2 separate regions of the Homo sapiens genome follow, and region 1 is linked to region 2. The links are contacts of gene promoters, found by promoter capture Hi-C in human tissues and cell types (Jung and others, 2019). All regions are on one chromosome and are shown on one strand. The core of a region is centred on a gene start or on the middle of the fragment in contact, and the rest is flanking DNA. Distances in the headings are between cores, read along the strand shown. Region 1 holds the start of TRAF2 (TNF receptor associated factor 2). Region 2 holds the start of GRIN1 (glutamate ionotropic receptor NMDA type subunit 1).

The links. Contacts are between HindIII fragments. The study calls those that stand out against the background at their distance.
Region 1: a contact is called between a fragment that was not itself captured here and the fragment with the promoter of GRIN1 in region 2, in 1 of the 25 tissues and cell types used here (lymphoblastoid cells).

Annotation. Positions count from the first base shown.
Region 1 is chr9:136,886,345-136,889,485 of GRCh38, forward strand. It overlaps TRAF2 (TNF receptor associated factor 2), which reads left to right and starts at 172. Exons shown (of 11, transcript NM_021138.4): 1 at 172-197. MIR4479 (microRNA 4479) reads left to right here and starts at 389; the gene lies at 389-459. RefSeq lists a silencer at 1-756 and enhancers at 133-868, 869-1,604. The HindIII fragment of the contact is 4,160 bases long and covers 1-3,141 here.
Region 2 is chr9:137,137,824-137,140,844 of GRCh38, forward strand. It overlaps GRIN1 (glutamate ionotropic receptor NMDA type subunit 1), which reads left to right and starts at 1,331. Exons shown (of 20, transcript NM_007327.4): 1 at 1,331-1,921. The coding sequence starts at 1,664. RefSeq lists a silencer at 874-1,168. The HindIII fragment of the contact is 23,460 bases long and covers 1-3,021 here.

The sequences.
Region 1 (3,141 bases), core at 61-2,560, 250 kb before region 2:
GCTCCGGCGTCAGTCCGTCAGGCGCGCTCGGAGCGGGGCGTATCTGGCCAATGGCTCTCGCTACAGCTTCCTGAGGGCTGGCTGGTTGGCTCCCATGTCCGTCCGTCAGGCGCACGCGGCGGAGCGGCGGCGGCGGCGGCGGCGTTGGGGGCGGTAGCTGGGCGGGCCCTTAGTTCCGGGCGCGCTGCGACCGTTGGGTGAGGCGAGCGCGGGGTCGGGTGCGGGGTCGGGCGCGGGCGCGGGGTCGGGTGCGGGGTCGGGCGCGGGGTCGGGCGCAGGCGCGGGCACCTCTCAGGGAGACTCCGGGCCGGAGCGGGAGCGGGGGCGGGAGAGGCCGCGGGGCGGGGGCGGGGCCAGCCCGAGGGGATTTCTCTGAGCCGCTGGGCCGGAAACCAAGTCCGAGCGTGGCTGGCGCGGGAAAGTTCGGGAACGCGCGCGGCCGTGCTCGGAGCAGCGCCAGGGCACGGTCCGGGGTTTTGCGCGGGGTCGCGGCTCCCAGTACCGCCTGAGGCCCGTGGGCGGCCCACCCGGCCCTGCCCCGTCCCGGGTCCGTCGCTCCCCCGCACCCTGTCGCCCCTCCACGCTCAGCTGTGGGCCCCTCGTGTCCCCGAAGCCCCGCACCCTCAGCCGGCTGCGTGCTCGGGAGGGTCAGGGGCGCCTCCGACCCCTGAGTTTGCCAGCGCCCCCCAGCCAGGGGTCGGGGAAGACCAGTGAGGCTGGGGGCGGAGCCGACTCTGCTGCCTTCCTGCCCAGTGGCTGGGGAGACCCAGGCTGAGCCTGGGTGAAAAGTCCCTCTGGCTGCTGGGAGGGTCGGGGGCAGCAAGGAGCCAGTGCGGGGATGGGCTGCGGTGGACCGGGCCGGGATCGGGGCCGGGGCCTGGTCCTGGCAGTAGCAGGGGATGTTTGTGGAAGGTAGAGCCGAGAAAAAGAGGAGTTGCAATGTCTGCAAGAATCTGGCGTGAGCAGCTGAAGGCTGGTGCTTCCTAGGCCAAGATGAAGGAGTCACAGCGCCCATGGCCTCTCGGGAGGCGGCCAGATGGGCAGCCTGGGGTCAGGGGAACGGTCAGGGCCAGAGCTGGGTATTTTGGAGTTGTCATTTTGAGGCCCCGAGGGCTGAGGGTCAGTGCAGAAGAGCACCAAGCCTCCACTCGGTGTAGGGCCGACAGGGGGTGGGGTGTCTGGCAGCCGGTGAAGACGGGGCTCGGAGGAGGAGGGAGTCTGGTCTGGGTCAAGTCAAGGGAAACTAGGACTGAGAACGGACCCTGCTCTGTGGCCACATGATTTTGAAGGGACGGAATTACTGCCCTGTAACTCAGTCTCTCTCCCTGTTAATAGCCCTAGTTTTTAATAAGAGGAACTGAATGTATTAATGGGTGGACACTTGTAAGGTTCAAGATCTCCTCTTCTACCACGCTTGCTTCTGATACTTTTGTATAAACAGTTGTTAAGAGTTTAGGTTGTTATCAAGCTTCTATTTGGTATTATTTTGAGCCTGAAAAAGATGGGGTTACATATAAAATTGTAATTTTATTTATTTATTTTTTGAGATAGTTTTGGTCTTGTTGCCCAGGCTGGAGTGCAGTGGCTCGATCTCGGCTCACTGCAGCCTCCGCCTCCTGGGTTCAAGCGATTTTTCTGCCTCAGCCTCCCGAGCAGCTGGGATTACAGGCGTGCACCACCACGCCCGGCTAATTTTTTGTATTTTTAGTAGAGATAGGGTTTCATCATGTTGGCCAGGCTGGTTTCAAACTCTTGACCTTAGGTGATCCACCCGCCTCGGCCTCCCAAAGTGCTAGGATTACAGGCATGAGCCACCGCGCCCGGCCATGAAATTACAGTTTTAAAGTTAACTTCTAGTATTTGGAGGGCCTCATATTCATGGCTGCATGCAGATCAGTGTTCCTGAATATTACTCAGATGAGCTTTTATAGAAGTGGGTTAGAATCAGGTGCCATTGACGCCTGTAGTCCCAGCTACTCCGGAGGCTGAGGCAGGAGAATGGCGTGAACCCGGGAGGCGGAGCTTGCAGTGAGCCGAGATCGCGCCACTGCACTCCAGCCTGGGTGACAGAGCGAGACTCCATCTCAAAAAGAATCGGGTGCCACCCAGTGAACTCTTACGTGGAGTCCAGTATTGTATGAAGCAGTTGTGTGCTGTTGGTGGAGACATGAATTGAGGTTTGAATCTCCAGCATTTGGGGCATCTTGGAGTCTGCTTGTGAGAAGGGCGAGGCCTGGGTTGAACCCAAGCGTTTGCGGCGACTAGGTGACCCCTGCAGCGGCCAGGTTGCACCCATATCTGATTTGATGTCATGGTTTGGGCAGTGTTTGACTTGTGTAACAATACAGCTTGTCCTTTTGAGAGTCACCGATGCCACCAAACCATGTTCACACACCAGAGTCAGGATGCCAGGTCTCAGCTGCCTGATGACTCCAGCTTAGTGAAGGCCTCTGATTTCTTGTGGGGGTGTCCCATTGTGAAGGGAACACACAGCTCGGCCCTACCAGCAACAAGGGTGCCAGATGCCCCCACTCTCCTGTGGAGGGGAGTCTCGCTCTGTCACCCGGCTGGAGTGCAGTGGCACGATCTCGGCTCACTGCAACCTCTGCCTCCTGGGTTCACGCTATTCTTCTGCCTCAGCCTCCCGAGTAGCTGGACTACAGGCACCCGCCACCACGCCCAGCTAATTTTTTGTATTTTTAATGGAGACGGGGTTTCACCATGTTAGCCAGGGTGGTCTCGATCTGATCTCGTGATCCGCCCACCTCGGCCTCCCAGAGTGCTGGGATTACAGGTGTGAGCCACCACTGAGGGGCTTTTTTACGTTAAAACTTGTTTGTTTGTTTTTCTTTTTTTGTTTGTGTGGTTTTTTCTGTTTTTTTTTTTTTTTTGAGACGGAGTCTCGCTCTGTCCCCCGGTGTGAGCCACCACGCCTGGCCTTTTTTTTTCTTTTTTTGAGACAGAGTTTCGCTCTTGTTGCCCAGGCTGGAGTGCAATGGTGCGATCTCGGCTCGCTGCAACCTCTGCCTCCCAGGTTCAAGTGATTCTCCTGCCTCATCCTCCAGAGTAGGTGGGATTACAGGCACCCACCATAATGCCCGGCTAATTTTTGTGTTTTTAATAGAGACAGGGTTTCTCCAC
Region 2 (3,021 bases), core at 81-2,580:
TTTGGAGATGGGCCACAAACTCCTGGAGATAGGGCCAGCTCAGTCCCCCTGAGCACCCACACACACCCTCCTGAGAGCCAACAGAAGGAGTGAGGGCCCCGAGGCGGATGACCCGTGTGCCTCAACCCGAACGGGGAGAGGCGGGGTCTGCAGCAGGGTACGGGCAGGTGATCCCCCAAGGAAAGATTTTCCTGTATTGAGAGAGAAGGGGCCAAGAGGAGGAGCTTGTCAAACACCACAGCCCCTCCCCCTCCTCTCAGCTCCAGGGGGTCCCTGGTGCCAGTGTTCGGCTGATGGAGAGAACGGCAAGCGGGAGAGAGAGTGTGACCCCTGTGGGCACATGACTTCCCTTGCTGCACTGCTGCACATAGCAGAGGTGTGGTGACGACCCTGTTTTGTCCCATTGGGGGCGTTTGCTGTTAGGTCTGCAGAATCCTCAGTTGCTATTGGAAATGGTGACATCACTGGCAGGGGCGGAGCTTCAGCCATCCTTCAAGTTAGGGAGGGGCACGCACACTCCAGGGGTGGAGGGGGACAAAGACAGGGTGGTGTGGACCAGAGGGATGGGTAAGGCTCTGGAAAAGGGGGCGCTGGGAGCGCATTGCGAGGGGGCTGGAGAGGGAGAGAGGAGCGGAAGCTGAGGGTGTGAAACGGCTGGCCCCGAACACACCTCGCGGCGCTCCAGTGATTCCTGGTGTCCGACCTCAGCCCCAGTCAGTGCGGGTCCAGTTTCCAGGCTCTCGCGGAAGGCCTGGCTGAGCACATGCGGCAGCCACGGTCACCCTCCCTATTCCTCTTAGCCCGAGGAGGGGGGTCCCAAGTTACATGGCCACGCAGATGGGGCCTCTCCCTCATTTCTGAACCTTGTGGGGAGGGGAACCTTGAAGGGAGCGCCCCCCAGAGCCATGGCTTAGGGCCTCCCCCACCCCTCTGGAGCTCCAGTCTGCAAGAGTCAGGAGCCGAAATATCGCTGACTGTGGGTGACGACTCTTGCGCGCACACACACATACAAGCGGGCACGACGCGTTCGGTCCTATTAAAAGGCACGCAAGGGTGCGGGCTGCACGCGGTGACACGGACCCCTCTAACGTTTCCAAACTGAGCTCCCTGCAGGTCCCCGACAGCACAGGCCCCTGTCCCAGGACCCCTCCAGGCACGCGCTCACACGCACACGCGCGCTCCCCGGCTCACGCGCGCTCCGACACACACGCTCACGCGAACGCAGGCGCACGCTCTGGCGCGGGAGGCGCCCCCTTCGCCTCCGTGTTGGGAAGCGGGGGCGGCGGGAGGGGCAGGAGACGTTGGCCCCGCTCGCGTTTCTGCAGCTGCTGCAGTCGCCGCAGCGTCCGGACCGGAACCAGCGCCGTCCGCGGAGCCGCCGCCGCCGCCGCCGGGCCCTTTCCAAGCCGGGCGCTCGGAGCTGTGCCCGGCCCCGCTTCAGCACCGCGGACAGCGCCGGCCGCGTGGGGCTGAGCCCCGAGCCCCCGCGCACGCTTCAGCGCCCCTTCCCTCGGCCGACGTCCCGGGACCGCCGCTCCGGGGGAGACGTGGCGTCCGCAGCCCGCGGGGCCGGGCGAGCGCAGGACGGCCCGGAAGCCCCGCGGGGGATGCGCCGAGGGCCCCGCGTTCGCGCCGCGCAGAGCCAGGCCCGCGGCCCGAGCCCATGAGCACCATGCGCCTGCTGACGCTCGCCCTGCTGTTCTCCTGCTCCGTCGCCCGTGCCGCGTGCGACCCCAAGATCGTCAACATTGGCGCGGTGCTGAGCACGCGGAAGCACGAGCAGATGTTCCGCGAGGCCGTGAACCAGGCCAACAAGCGGCACGGCTCCTGGAAGATTCAGCTCAATGCCACCTCCGTCACGCACAAGCCCAACGCCATCCAGATGGCTCTGTCGGTGTGCGAGGACCTCATCTCCAGCCAGGTGCCCTCCCCCACCTCCGCCACCCACCTCCCCTCTCCTCCATCCTGCAACCCCACACCCCCAGTTTCATTCCATCCTTTCCGTGCCCCCTTCCTCCCTGTAAGACACCACCCCAGAGTCAGCTGGCTGCTTCCGGGAGGCCTCGTCTCACTAGGAACCAAACACCAGGGTCTGCTGGCTCCCCTATCTTGGCCTGAGACCAGTCACCTGCCACCTTGGCTGGTCCTCAGAGGGCCCCTGGGGCTCCAGGCCCTGACTGGTGTGTGTAGACGTGGGGCTGGAGTGTGTCAGTGTGGGGGTGGGCATTCCGGGTAAGAGAGTAGAAGCGCCTGTCCAGCTACATGCCCGCCCTGCAGAGCTTTAAACAGGACGGGGCCTGGGGCCATCTTTGTTTCTGCTTCCAGGTTCTCCTGCCCTTTCTTTCGTCCCTTCCCCCTACCGATGGGTCCGCCTGGGAAGAGAAATGGCTCAGGTGCCACGGCAGGACGCTTTGTGGGGGTGGGAGTGGGGGTGCACACGCGAGAGGCATCAGGGCATGGGAGCTGTCGGCAGCCAGCGCTGCGGGGGAGGACGTGGCTCCTGGGATTTTGCCTGTCGGAGCTGTCCGCCCCTGGGCCGAGCGCCTGCTGAATTCCAATGAGGCTGCAAGGATCTGCAATGCAGCCCTTTATGTAAGAGGCAAGACAGACATCCAGCCTAGCACCGCTCACACGTGCCTACCTGATGGACACACCACATCTGTGGACACACATGCTCACACTCACACCAAATGTTACATTAGCACACACTCATGCACCTCAGCATCACACAATCAATTTCATATGCTCATCTGCACACATGCAGATCCATTGACACCTGCTCATGTGCCACACACGGCTTGGCATGCATTCCCAGAGGCACGTGCAAACATGCACATTTACACACATGGTTCCAGTCATTCACACGCATGTACACGAACAGACATGCCAGGGCATGTGATGCACATAACCATACCCTAGCACACGCGTGAACACCTGCATGGTCACACACGGACCTACGGGTCTTTGCCAAGCACCTCTGGGTGCAGGCTGGAAGCAAGAGCTGGGGGAGGGAGAACCACT